Linked DNA regions of Homo sapiens: all the other regions are linked to region 4. Evidence: promoter capture Hi-C in 16 types of primary human blood cells and fetal thymus (Javierre and others, 2016). All regions are on one chromosome and are shown on one strand. The core of a region is centred on a gene start or on the middle of the fragment in contact, and the rest is flanking DNA. Distances in the headings are between cores, read along the strand shown. Region 1 overlaps MRPL16 (mitochondrial ribosomal protein L16). Region 2 has its middle 14 kb from the start of OR5B21. Region 3 holds the start of STX3 (syntaxin 3). Region 4 holds the start of FAM111A (FAM111 trypsin like peptidase A). Region 5 overlaps PATL1-DT (PATL1 divergent transcript).

What was found. The method cuts DNA at HindIII sites, captures the fragments that hold promoters and counts their contacts. A CHiCAGO score of 5 or more calls a contact.
Region 1: a contact is called between a fragment that was not itself captured here and the fragment with the promoter of FAM111A in region 4, in 1 of 17 cell types (non-activated CD4 T cells). The highest score is 5.7, in non-activated CD4 T cells.
Region 2: a contact is called between a fragment that was not itself captured here and the fragment with the promoter of FAM111A in region 4, in 3 of 17 cell types (naive CD8 T cells, total CD4 T cells and activated CD4 T cells). The highest score is 8.2, in naive CD8 T cells.
Region 3: the fragment with the promoter of STX3 here is called in contact with the fragment with the promoter of FAM111A in region 4 in 5 of 17 cell types (activated CD4 T cells, non-activated CD4 T cells, naive CD4 T cells and 2 more); the score reaches 7.0 in activated CD4 T cells.
Region 5: a fragment that was not itself captured here is called in contact with the fragment with the promoter of FAM111A in region 4 in 1 of 17 cell types (total CD4 T cells); the score reaches 6.5 in total CD4 T cells.

The regions. Positions count from the first base shown.
Region 1 is chr11:59,807,118-59,809,817 of GRCh38, reverse strand. MRPL16 (mitochondrial ribosomal protein L16) reads left to right here. Exons shown (of 4, transcript NM_017840.4): 3 at 1,969-2,117. Among named protein-coding and RNA genes, the nearest start is that of MRPL16, 2.3 kb to the left of the region's middle. The HindIII fragment of the contact is 1,415 bases long and covers 582-1,996 here.
Region 2 is chr11:58,520,456-58,523,155 of GRCh38, reverse strand. No RefSeq gene overlaps it. Among named protein-coding and RNA genes, the nearest start is that of OR5B21, 14 kb to the right of the region's middle. The HindIII fragment of the contact is 1,993 bases long and covers 355-2,347 here.
Region 3 is chr11:59,753,927-59,756,626 of GRCh38, reverse strand. STX3 (syntaxin 3) reads right to left here and starts at 1,251. Exons shown (of 11, transcript NM_004177.5): 1 at 992-1,251. The coding sequence starts at 1,021. RefSeq lists a silencer at 1,051-1,310 and enhancers at 2,181-2,340, 2,277-2,571, 2,337-2,631, 2,321-2,700. The HindIII fragment of the contact is 11,536 bases long and covers 1-2,700 here.
Region 4 is chr11:59,141,585-59,144,284 of GRCh38, reverse strand. It overlaps FAM111A (FAM111 trypsin like peptidase A), which reads right to left and starts at 1,429. Exons shown (of 6, transcript NM_001312909.2): 1 at 1,339-1,429; 2 at 981-1,202; 3 at 590-788. It overlaps FAM111A-DT (FAM111A divergent transcript), which reads left to right and starts at 1,477. Exons shown (of 4, transcript NR_110184.1): 1 at 1,477-1,670. It also overlaps the pseudogene LOC100422399. RefSeq lists an enhancer at 1,212-1,661. The HindIII fragment of the contact is 3,476 bases long and covers 1-2,700 here.
Region 5 is chr11:59,674,325-59,677,024 of GRCh38, reverse strand. PATL1-DT (PATL1 divergent transcript) reads right to left here. Exons shown (of 4, transcript NR_187296.1): 3 at 2,052-2,098; 4 at 984-1,628. Among named protein-coding and RNA genes, the nearest start is that of PATL1-DT, 6.4 kb to the right of the region's middle. The HindIII fragment of the contact is 507 bases long and covers 1,161-1,667 here.

The DNA of each region.
Region 1 (2,700 bases), core at 40-2,539, 670 kb before region 4:
TCTGATGGAAACCAGGAGCGGGTGGGAGATGACATAGGAATGTTCTCGTGTTTCCCATCCCCGTTCACTCTTTCAATAAATATGTTTTTAGAGCTTACAGTTTTGCCAACTAATATTCTGAGCACTAGAAATAAATCAAAGACAAAGGAAACCAAAAAAGTTCCTTGCTCTTACGGAGCAGCGTCTAATGAGATAGCTCCCCTAAAACCTCCCACTGGTGTGTGTCCCATGGTCCACTCAGCCAGTAGTCATTGGCCTGAAATCTGGATTTTTGAGCGGGCATGGTGGCTCACGCCTGTAATCACAGCACTTTAGGAGGCGGAGGCGGGTGGATCACTTGAGGCCAGGAGTTGGAGACCAGCCTGCCAACCTGGTGAAACCCCATCTCTACTAAAAATACAAAAAATTAGCTGGGCGTGGTAGTTTACACCTGTAATCCCAGCTACTCAGGAGGCCACTGCACTCCAGCCTGGGCAACAGAGTGAGACTCTGTCTCAAAAGAAAAAAAAAACCTGAACTTTTGATGTTCTTTCCAAATAAGTTTACATATATGCAGTCATCTAACGATATGTGAAAAAGCTTTAATTTGTTAAATTTAAGCCACAATATCGTAAAACTAGTTTACTTTTTAAAAAAGAAATATACTGGAACCCTCAAAAAAAATGAATAGGGTCTGTACATCTGAGGGTCTTCTGTACAGAATTGTTAAACCACGTTTTGAAAGTACATTTTGACTTGTAGGTGAAAGAAAGCATTACTAAGATTCTCTGTAGCTACATATAGAAGTTGAGGGGCAGCTTCTGAAACTCTGATAGTAATAATTTGGTATTTCCTCAAACTCTTCTATTTTGTATTTGTCTCCATTATAAAGCCATACTTGGTTCATTTAAGAAATTTTTAAAAATGATTTGTATGTTAACTTTTTTCCCCAAATCGTCAAGTAAGGATGATAAAGAAGATGTCACATGTCTGGCCTGAAGTTTTGCCCACCCACCAAAACCTGGCACACTGACCTGTGCAGGTCTCAGCATGAAAAGTCCCTGCATATATGAGAGAAAGAGCATTGATCAAAGGATTCCTAGGTTGTAAGTTTCTCAACAAGAATGTGGCAGAGCTGGAGAACTTAGATATTTTTATGTACAATATAGTATTCTTCCACTACCCCCATTAACATCCAGAGAGGCAGGGAAATATATGTATATATTTTTGTGACATGGTATGTAGCTTTGCTGTTGAACTGGATGGCATAGACCAGATTATAAAGTGTTTTTAGCCCTCGGGTTCCTCTTCTATAAAATGGAGATTAAAAATACTACCTGCCTAATATCCTGTTTGTTGATCTGGGTAATAGTGGTGTGTGTTCATGTGTTCACTTTCTGGTAATTCACTGAGCTGTATATTTTTAATTTGGCCCTTTGATATAGCTGTGTTAAACTTTGACAAGTTTAAAATTTTTAAAAAGAGAGCCCTGAAAGAATACCAAGGCTATAAAGTTATTTTAAAGATTAAGTGAACTAGTGGTTTCCAAACAATCCCTGTTACAGTGTTAAGCACAGAGTTGGTGATTAATAAGTGCATTTGGATTCAGAGGATAAAACTTTGCTATCTTTAAAGTTTTAGAAACATTTGCATTAGCCACTGTCACAGCCAGAAGATTCCAGTGTCACTAAAAGCATCTGCAAAAATGTAATATACCTTTACAGTTACTGTTCAGTGGTAACTTTAAGACTTTCAGGCTGGATATGGTGGCTCGCACTTGTAATCCCAACACTTTGGGAGGTAAAGGCAGGAAAATCACTTGAGGCCAGGAGTTTGAAACCAACCTGGGCAACATAGTGAGACCCTGTCTCTACCAAAAAATGAAGAAGAAAGAAATTAAGACTTTCACCTGTTATAAATCTTTCTAGGAAAATAGATCTTTTGAGATGTATAGTTTTACTTTATCCTGGTTGTCTGTGCTTCTTTTAGATGTTTCCATTCCTGAAAAACCCAAGCTTAGATTTATTGAAAGGGCACCACTTGTGCCAAAAGTAAGAAGAGAACCTAAAAATTTAAGTGACATACGGGGACCTTCCACTGAAGCTACGGAGTTTACAGAAGGCAATTTTGCAATCTTGGTGAGTGAATTCAGCATCGAGCAGCAATGGGATGGAAGCTAGGGAATAACAAAATCTCATACTCCTTGAGATAATTTAGTCTCTTCCTCCACAGTTTTTATTAGAACTGCCACCAGTTGCTCTTTAAACTGGTATGTACAGAGGCTACTGGGTACCCAGTAAACATTTGGGTTATATATCTTTTTTTTTTTTAATGTAGAGTGAAAATAACGTAAAAGCAGAAGGAAGGGGCTAGCTAATGTGCCCCATAATCAGATCATGAGATCTTTTCAAGCCCTGGTAAAAATAAAACCATCCACAATATAGGATGTGGAAGACAGCTGTTTCCTTACTTGTTGAGTAGCTTCCATGAAGACTTGATGTCAGCAGCCACACAAATGGGTGTGCACTAGGATTTGTTTTCCACCAGGCAGCCAGAGTGATATTCCAAAGTCCTCTTCCTGCAGCCTACATAATCACCCCCACTGACCTCTCAGAACCTCCTGCCCACTCTCCCCATTCCTCACCCTACTCCAGCCACATTGGCTTCTGTTCAACTTGCCAAGCCCTCTGCTGTGCCAGGGCCTCCACATAAGCCTTTCTT
Region 2 (2,700 bases), core at 102-2,601, 620 kb after region 4:
ATTTTTATCATCACTTGGGGGAGGCTGTCTGAGAAAGAGGCCAGCACAGTGGAACGTAGAACCAAGTAATGGAGAGGCTGTGTTTTCTTTTTTTGAGCCACTCAGTTCTACCATAGCAGCATCTTAACCATAGACTAGGAAATTATGTGAGCAAATAAATTCTCTTTTTTGTTTACATTGAACAAATAAACTCAGTGTTGGTACAGAACGTATATTGTATATCGTCATGAAAAACTAATACACAAAAATAGTGTTTGATCACTTCTTGATGCTTTTTACACCAGAGCACAGTGAAACTCTGTAGTTTAAGGTTAAGTCATCCTGTGGATAGCTCGCATATTTAGAGTACAAGCTTCTTGCTCCTGTCCAATTTTGCAGTATCTGTCACTATTACAAAGGGGAAGAAAAAGGTTGTGAGGGTGTTGTCATCCTCTAAGATTTAAAATTGTTTTGGAAATGATGGTATTCATGCTACTTTGTTTAATTATAATCCAGAGAGAACTATTACGTATTTGATATTACTGCAATACTCTTTATAGTGAAAACTAGTTTTAAAACATCCTGATACCCCACTAGCAAACAAAAAAGGAAGAAAAATTAGACGATTATAAGAGAAATCAATTTACATTTATCCTGTGTCTTAGTCTGCGCAGTTGCCAAAACAAAATACCATAAATGGGGTGTCTTAAGCCACAGAAATTTATTTTCTCATAGATCTGGAGATGAGAAGTCTCAGATTAAGGTCTGCAGGTTTGAATTCTGTTGAGGGCTCTTTTCTTGGCTTGCATATAGCTGCCTTCTTGCTTTGTCCTCACAGGGTGAAAAGAGGGAGAGAGAGAGAGACCACAAGAGATCTGGTGTCTCTTCTTGTAAGGAAACCAATCTTATCAGATCAGGGCCCAACCCTTATGATTTCGTTTAATCTTAATTACTTCTTTACTTAAAATACAGCCACATTGGGGGTTAGGCCTTCAACATATTTTGGAACGACACATTCAGTCCATTACATCCTGAAAGGTGCTACTTAAAGAAAATTGGGTTTATATGAAGTTAAGGAGGAAAAAGAAGACATTTATAGTGATTCTGAGAGGGGACCTTAGGGACACTTTTCAATGCTTTGGAAGTTTGAAGTGGTTATTTTCATTATGTTCAATAACACTTAGAAAATAGGACTTTCTGTCTCTAGGTGCTCTTGCATTTTCAGACATGAGTTAGAAAATATTGGAGGCTCAAAAATAAAATGAAGAACTTGGAGATTTTCCTAAGATAATCTGAAAATTTTGAAATGGAGGAAAAGTAGGACGGAAGAAAGTTACAGGATATATAAGATAATTTTTGAGTTGGGCAAGGTGAAATTTTCAGAGCTTTCAGTAAAGGAGGCAAGATGGGCCGTATAACACACTATCTGAGGAAAAGAAAGACAGAGTGGGGGGAATTGTCACTCAGTTCCCTTACACAAACTACCTGGTGAAGCTACTACTTACCCTAGATTGTCTCACAATTTGGGGTTTTTCTAGAAGTGGATGCTGAGACTAGGACTTGTGTATAGTAGTCTATTTAGGAGGCAATCTCTAGATGTACAGCTAGAAGAGCCAAAAGTGAGATATTTTCTATATTCTACAGGGATTACGCCTGTAATCCCAGCACTTAGGGAGGCCGAGGTGGGCAGATCACGAGGTCAGGAGATCGAGACCATCTTGACCAACACAGTGAAACCCCGTCTCTACTAAAATACAAAAAATTAGCCGGGTGTGGTGGTGTGCAGCCTGTAGTCCCAGCTACTCAGGAGGCTGAGGCAGAGGAATCGCTTGAACCCGGGAGGAGGAGGTTGCAGTGAGCCAAGATAGCGCCACTGCACTCCAGCCTGGGCATCAGAGTGAGACTCCGTCTAAAAAAAAAAAAAACCCAAAAAAACAAACAAACAAAAAAGAAAAGGCAAGGAAGCCAAATCAGTGTGCATTAATGAGCAGATTACTGTCTTGGGAAGTTGGAACTCAATACTCAGAGGACCTCTGGGATTCATTGTAGAGTACAAGAGGTGGTCCACCAACCCTTACACCCCACTTTGTCTTCCTTGTACTCAAGCTGCATGTACTCTGAGGCCAAAGAAAGCCCTTTTTCTAAATCACAGGCACTTTGAGTAGGAGCAGCAGTGTGTACCTAGCAGTAAGTGCCAACAGATAGGGGTGGGGAACTAATGCCATTTGTTGGGTAAAGTTATCGAGGGGTAAGGTTAAAAGGAAGAAAATCATACCAAAGGACTTCACATTACCGGTAATCACAAGACCGAATTTGTGGTAAGCCATGCATTTGCAAAGTTTTATAATATTCCCAGCTCTATGAAGCTTAATGTATTTCATCTAAGGTAGTATTAGTAGAGGGGATGACAGAAGGGAGAAAGTGGGCAAGGATTATTATTTCCATTTACCTGTGGAAGAAGCAGTTGATTACATGAATAGGTCAAGGTGACTTGATTTAGAAACAGAACTAAAGTTTGTTAATTCCTTGTCTGGGATGCTTTCTTTTAGGCTGTATATCAACAATGTAAAGTGCCCATGAGGTGAATTTTCAAGGGACAAGCAAGGGCACTAGGGCATCAAAGTGATCTGCTCTAGGCTACACTGTTTTGGTTATAGTGGCAAGAATAGCAGCCATGGCTTCAGGCAAACCAAAATTTAAAAGTTGAGTTTACCACTTGCA
Region 3 (2,700 bases), core at 2-2,501, 610 kb before region 4:
GGAAATGGATGAATAATTAGATTCTGATTCTGCGGGGCTAGACTCAGGCCTAAGCTGCTACACTTGTAACAAGCTCCAAAGTAGATGGACTAAACTCTTGAGTGTCAAGGGCTAGATTTTAATTCTATTAAGGTAGAACCTGTGCCACTGAATCTCCAAGGCTTAGCACTGGACCTCCCCATAGAATACACTCAATAATTATGTACTGAATGAGTCAATGAATATCTGGCTTAAAACCCTATGCGTTAACCCTTTTCTGTATCAAGTTCCATTGTATCAGCTGATCCTCCCAACAAATTCCTAGGGTATGATCATTCCCATTTGATAGATAAGGAAACAGAGACTCACAGTAAGTAACCTAAGGCTTTACAGCTTTTGCGCAGCCAAGGCTGGAGGTAGTCTACCTTCAGATCCTTTGACCTAACCACAGCTGTTCCAAAAGATACGGCGGGGGAGGGGGGGACAATGACACCCGGGGATAACAATTACAGACCACCGGTTGGAGAGGAGCTGACCCATCCCAGCATGTGACCGGCTCACAGCTCCAGAGGTCACCAGAGAGCTCTGAGCTGCTCCCTGGGGGAAGGGGCAGCCAGGCCTGTAGCACCTCAGGAGAGAAACAGGAAAGGGAGAAGGAGGCTGGTCCTGGGCATAGTGCCAGGCAGCAGTGGGCAGGTGGTGAAGGGACCCCTGACCTCCCGGGCCCAAGCACCCGCTTCGGGAACCAGCTCTGGACAGACACTGTCCAGCTTGCGGGGTGGGAGAGTTAGAGGCGTTCAGGAAAATCATTGCCTAGCGATGAATCACCGGGCACATGACCCCGCAGGGGAGGGGAGGGGAGGGTGCGGAACCGGCGCGGGAAGCGGTGGGGGCTTGGGGAGGGCAAGCCTCCGGCTCGGGCCCCCCTCCAGCCTCGACTTGGGGAGCAAAGGGAAGCCCCTCTCCCATGCAGCACCCCTCCTGGCAGCACCCCGCCTGCGGCGAAACTCACGGCCTTCAGCTGCTCCAGACGGTCCTTCATCCTGAAGCCCAGGCGCCCGGAGGCAGGTAGCGCGTCCCAGGTGAGCGCGTCCCAGGTGAGCGCTTCCCAGGTGAGCTGCCGGAAGCGGCGGCCGGGCCCGCCGGGGCGAAGGAGCTGGAGGCGCAGGCGGCGGCGGGCGGCGGCCGCTAGCTAGGAGGAGCGTCCGAGGCCACGGGAGCCTCCGCCGCGCAGCCCCCTCCGCCCCCACCGGCGCCTCGCGCTCCAAATCCGGCTCCCGGGCCGGCGCCGGCGCAGCGCTGATCCGCCCTGGACCCGCCCCTACCTGGCCGCGCCCCTCGCTCCTTCTTAAAGGGCCCGCGTCCCGCCACCGCCCGGCCGCCCGGGGCGTCTCCAAAGCCCCCTTCCCTAACCCGAGAGCCCTCCAGACACGCGTGGAGTCCGGGGAGAGGCCCCTGCACCGGCGGATCCTGCCGCAGGGCCGAGGAAGAGCAAGAGCGACTGTCTGGCTGCGGTCATTCGCTGTCTGTGCCGGGCTCCTCGCTAGGATCCAGTTCTTAGCCGACTCCTTGCTAGGCGGGGACAAGCTCCCGAAAACAAATAAGACAATGTGATGTGGGCTACATTGGGTGGCAGTCGAGTGTTCTAAAAATATCCCGCCAGGAGGAAGGCATTCCGAGTAGCGGGATCCCGCGCAGCCTCAGGGCTGCTGGCAGTGAAAGTGGGGGGATGGAGGAGGTGTCCAGAGGAAAGACCTGGAGATCTGGAGATACAGGACGGTCAGGGTGGTCAGAGAATTTGGATCTTTTGCTTGTTGGAAATCGGGACCGCTCCGAGAAACGTAAGCAGCTCGATGTTGTTAGTGCCAGTGGAGACACTTGGCACTCACAATTTGCAGACGTTTGGGAAAGCATCGTTTCTCAAGAGGACCCCGTTCCCGTGTCTGTAAATCAGAGATGGTACCCACTTCGTAGTTCGCTGTGAAGCCTGTGAGCGAGGAGGGGCTTTAAAATACAGAACTTTGCACTGGAGCGCTCCCCGTCCTCGCAGCCTGCTTGGTGTGCAGGTGGTTCCCAGGCGGCTTCTGCTTCCGAAAAGCAGATCGTCCCTTTATCTCGAGTCTTCTCCCCGCCTCTCCCTCTTCTCCCTACCCTATTTGTCTTCTTGGGAACAAATGGCACATTCATCAGAGTGGAGATCCATAAACGGGACTGGCGAGCCGAAGATTTAATTCTGAAGAATAGGATCTGCTCTGTGCTTTCAGGTTAAAAAGCTGTAAATATCTTTGTAATTCTAGCAGTACTTTGCCCTCTTCTGCCATCTGAACGCGTGCTCCCTGCTGACCTCATCGGCTCCCATAAAGATACGGTGCGTATGGCAGAGGTCGGGCTTTGAGCCGGCCCCGCGGGTCTCGGCCGTAGTTCTCTCTCGCGTCCGGCACACTTCCTTCTGCCCGCTGTGCTCGCTGGGCAGGTTGTCCCCGCCTTAGTACCAGGAGGGCTTCCGCGCCCCCTGGTGGTCATACTAGGAAAGGCGAGTAGATCAGAAATACACACTGTCCCACCTCCTTCCCCTAACACATTTTTGGGGAGTTTGGGGGTTGTTTGTTTGTTTGTTTGTTTGTTTGTTTGTTTTTTAGACAGAGTCTCATTCTGTTGCGCAAGTTGAGTGCAGTGGCGCGATCACCGCTCTCTGCAGCCTCGATCCCCTGGGCCCAACCC
Region 4 (2,700 bases), core at 180-2,679:
AGGTTGAAGGGACTTCAGGGCACACACTGATTCTGAGTTGAGGGTTGGGAGGTTGATTAGGTCTTGCTGGAGCCTCCAAGAATGTCAAATGTTGGCTCCCAGTAATATCAAAGCAACCTGTTGATAAGACAAAGCTAAGTTTCTTGCTCACTTAGGTAATGGAGAACAATAACTTGACAGAATTTAAGTGGTGTCTCAGAGAGGGAAGAGCAAGTTTGGGCTATATGTATTGAGATTTTGAAGTCCCATTGTAAGTCTAATATTTAATGAGGGGAATTGGTTAGAATTGAGTCAGCTACGGGTAAAAGTTTAGGATTGGTAGATAAAACAAGGCTAGGATTTTGAGGTAAAGGTTCAAAGTCTTAGAATGTAAACTGTTCTTTGATGTTTTCCATTGAAGAGTGGTTGGATCTTTGAAGAAGATACTGGATTAAGCAATAAAGATATTTGCAACTTTCCGGTCCCTGGCAAAAGTTTCTTGAAATAGTAAATGTATGTTGATGAAAATAATGGAATAAGAAGTCAGGTTAATGTAGTTGGCAAGCTATGTGAGTGTAGATGGCTTCAGTTCTCACAATAGTGAACATACCTGATAATGTACTCAACATTTGTCACTTAGAGTATTTTATCCTGGAAAGAAGCGTAGTTGGGAAAACGCACTTGAGATGATGTTTGCTGCACACAGAATTCGGACACAGAGATGTGAATCTCCTTAGGAACCATTTTCATAAAGTTAACATTGGGTCTTAATAGACATCAGTTTTTAAAAATTAGAACAGGCTTGGGCACTGCAAAAGAAAGACACATCCGTTCACTTGGCTGTTCTTTTTAAGTTTCCAGGGAGAGCGTCAGTGCCCCTTTCAACAATAAAAGCCCGCAGGAGTGCAGATTTTATTTACCCTGTCCCCACCAGCATCCTGCTGCGGCCAATGAATCCTGGCAAAACTCCAGGTCAGCCCCAGAACCAAAGAGTAACTCACCTAAGAGGAAGGTCCGTTCCCACCAAGTCTCAGACGCCTGAACTCGTGATTTTTAGGGACTTTCCCTTCCAGTCCCTTGGAATCCAGCACTTTGGTTGGAGAACAGAACTCACTTGGGGAATGGCGCGTCTGGCCAATGGAATGAAAGATACTGGAGTTTGTCTTTTCTCTTCAGGCAGCAACTCACCTACTTCGGAAGCCGATTGGCTGCGCTGGGGACACCTGTTGGCGTGCAAAAAAGAGTGGTTGGAAAGGCAAGGCCGAGGGGGCGCGCCTACCCTACCCACCCACAGCGCTCCTCCTTGACGCCGCGAGCAGGACCCTGTCTCACTGACCCCGTGCCCACGGCGGTCCTTGCCTGCTTCTATTCTCCCGGTTTCCCCAGTCCCGAGTATTGGAAAGCGAGAGCGAAAGCGAAAGCATCCTAGTCGCCGGTAGGCTGGCCTGGGCCGGGCTGGAGAGGGAGCAGGAAATAAAAACTCGGGTGTGGGAGGAGCTGGGACGCTGGCGGCAGAGCCACTGTGGCAGCTTGAGTCTCGCGCGCGCAGGAAGCGGAGGTGGAAGTTGGGGCGCAGGAATGTGGCTGTCCCCGCCTGTAAATCATGGTTGGGGAGGAGTCGCGGAGGCACCAGGCTGGGGTCTGCAGCGCGCCATCTGCTGCAGCACACAGGAGGCGCTGAGGCTAGTTGGGTAAGTGGGGAGATTTCAGGCACTTCCGAGGGGGCGGCATCCCCAGCAGGTGGGATAGGCCCGGTGACTAGGACAAAATCACGAAGAAGCCGCGGATGCAGGAAGAGTAAACTCCCTTGTCATAAATCGATTCTCCAAACGTTCATCAATATGTGGAGACGTTTATGATAGTGATGAAGAAGATGATATGGGCTCTAGGAATATGCATCTCAAAGCTGATGATCGAAGAAGATTGGAGAGGGTTTTCAAGGCAGCCTGCTGTTTAAGGACCTGCATTCTGAGTAGATGTGTATTGGAAAAGGCGATTACAGTCACAAAGGGGACAACTTTTATGCAATTGACAGAGGACTATATGATGTATATAAACAGATAGGGTTGAAAGGTGTGTTGGTAACTACAAAACACATGGGAATTTGAAGGAAGGAACTGGCCTTAAATGCATGTACAATACACCAAGAGAAGCTAAAATTACTGCTTCATCTTCTGTGGGTTCTTTGGGGTTTGGATAGAGTAACCTTAAAACATATTTGAATGCTGACTTTTTCTATGAGACTCACTTTTGGAATCTGTGCATTCCTACATTCACAAAGGGTAATCACAGCTAGTACCCAGCATCCAAACAATAGCAGCCAATAATTCTAATCTGGAGAAAATTTTCTTTTCTCTCTCTTTCTCTCTCTCTCTCTCTTTCTTTCTTTCTCTTTCTTTCTTTCTTTCTCTTTCTTTTTTTCTTTTTCTTTCCTTCTTTCTTTCTCTTTTTTCTTTTCTTCTTCATTCCTTCCTTCCTTTCTTCCTTTCTTTTTTCTCTTTATTTCTTCTCTTTCTTTCTTTCTTCTTTCTTTTTTCTTTTATCTTTCTTTCTTTCTCACTTTTCTCCTTCCCTCCCTCCCTCCTTTCTTCCTTCTTTCTCTTTTGCCTGTTTTACATTTTAATGTGTAAGCAAATAGTGATTAAAGGACAATAGGCTTAACATTTTCTAAAACATGGGTGTTCAGAATTGAATATACTGATAAAATTTGTTTCCAAAAGG
Region 5 (2,700 bases), core at 165-2,664, 530 kb before region 4:
CATTTACAGCGTGATTTACTGAATATTTAAAGCCCACTGCTGAAACCTACTACTCAAAAAAAAAAAAAAAAAAAAAAACTGGTTTATTTTAAAATACTACTGCTCATTGACAATGCAGCTGGTCACCCAAGAACTCTGATGGAGATGTACAAGATTAATCGTTTTCAGGCCTGCTAACACAACATCCATTCTGCAGCCCACACAGCAATTTCAACTTTCAAGTCTTATTATTTCAGAAATACATTTTGTAAGGCTATAGCTGTCATAGATAATGATTCCTTTGATGGATCTGGGCAAAAGAAATTGAAAACCTTCTGGATACTTCTGGATGACTAGATAAAGGAAAACAAAACAAAACAAAAAAACCTGGAAAGGATTTACCATCCTAAATGCCATTAAGAACATTTGTGAAGCCAGGTACAGGCAGCGTGGCGAAGCCCTGTCCCTACAAAAAATACAAAAATTAGCCGGGCATGATGGTGCCCGCCTATAGCCCCAGCTACTTGGGAGGCTGAGATGGGAGAATGGCTTGAGCCCAGGAGGTGGAGGTTGCAGTGAGTCGAGATCGTGCCACTGCACTTGTTTGCCCCCTGCCCGCAAAAAGAACATTTGTGAGTCATAGGAAGGGGTCAAAGTATCAACATTGTCATGGAAAAACTTAAACTGCATTTGTCCTCTGCTCTCACACCACAACAATCAACACAGAAGACTTCTGTGACCAAATATATGGGGGATTTTCCCCACCAACAAGCAGTGGAGACCAGCTGGGTATCCTCCAATTCGATTCTGACACTACCTGGAGATATGTCAGTTCCCACAGGTAAAGGGCTCAGTCCCCAAGATTACTCCCTCCTCCCCCCAGACACCAGTTGCAAGTCCAGGTCTCTGGAACTTCTGATCAATCAGCTTCAAGTTGAGGTTCCCATGACCCCCTCTTTGGGTTCAATAATTTGCTGGAGTGGCTCACAGAACTAAGGAAACACTTATATTTACCAGTTTATTATAAAGGATATCACGAAGGATCCAGATGAAGAGATGCACAGGGAGAGGTATGGAGGAAGGGACACGGAGCTCCCATGCCCTCCCCAGGTAGCCATTCCCCAGAAACCTCCACTTGTTCAGCTATCAGGAAGCTGTCCTCTTGGATTTTTATGGAAGCTTCATTATATCAGCATTCCTTCCCCCAGGCCATGGGTTGGGACCCTCTCTGAAATGAGTCTTATGATCCACAATTATAAAAGCAGAAGATTAGAGTCCTGCTTTGGGGTAGGTGAAAGGAAGGCAGGTAAAAGGAAGGCAAGAGAAGGTCAAAGAGATTCTGTTTCCTGTGTATGAAAACCTATATGTATATATATTTCATAACACTACAAACATTAACAGGACTTTGGAAGAAGTTGATTCCAACCCTCATGGATGACTTTGAGAGGTTCAAGACTTCGGTGGAGGAAGTCACTGCAGGTGCGGTGGAATACCAAGAGAACTAGAATTAGAAGTGGAGCCTGAAGATGTGACTGAATTCCTGCAATCTCATGATTAAACTTTTAACAGGTAAGGAGGTGCTTCTTATGCATGAGAAAAGAGTTTCCTTAAGATAGAATCTTCTCCCGGTGAAGATGCTGTGAACATTGCTGAAATGATAATAAAGGATTTAGAGTATTACACAAGCTTAGTTGATAAAGCAGTGTTTGAGAGAATTGCCTCCAATTTTGAAAGTTCTAATTCATGGGTAAAATGCCAAACAGCGCTGCATGCTACAGAGAAACTTTTCCGTCATGAAAGGAAAAGTCAATCGAGGTGGCTTACTTCCTTGTCTTATTTTAAGAAATTACCATAGCCACCCCAACCTTCAGCAACCACTGCCTTTATCAGTAAGCAGCTATCAACATCGAGGCAAGACCCTCCATCAGGAAAAAGATTAAAATTCGCTAAAGGCTTAGATGATCATTAGCATTTTTAGCAATAAAGCATTTTTTAATTAAGGTATGTACATTGCGTTTTTAAAGACATAATGCTATTGCACAGTAGGCTATAATATAGATATCACTTCTCACCATTTTACATAATAGATTCTCGATAAATACGTATTGAGTTGAATCCCCTGCAAAAAAAAAAGTTTAATAGTTTGCCAAAGTATAACTTTCAAAAAGCTAAATAAAAATTATTCTCTTTCAATTACATTATGAGCATGTGTCAAAATATTTATTTATCTTATTAATGAAAAGAAACAGCAAGGTGGTGAAGCTGATTCAAAGGAGGACACAAGAAACTATGAACTATATAGTGGGGGAAATGGCTGAATTAAGACTCAAAAGTTAAATATATTATTGGTTAATGTCCTGTGTGGCAATAAAACTGTCTCCTTTGAGATGATCTTTCCCACCAAAATGAAATTATCTCCACTGGACAAAAATAATTTGCAACTTGTTAATCTTCTATAAACTAATATCTAACTTTACTGAGTCTGGGATCTCATTAATTAATAATAAACACTAAGTCAAACAAGGTTACCTCTCTGTAGAACTTTAAATGACCTTTAGGCAGGCTTGTTAGATAATGTTCTTATTACAACATTGCAAGGCACACAACAATCCTTTTTCCTTATTTCCAAGTTTTGTATAATTTTTCTAAACGGACACATTCCCACTATCTATTAGTGAGCAATAAACTACTCTAAAACTTTGTGGTTGAAATGTACATATA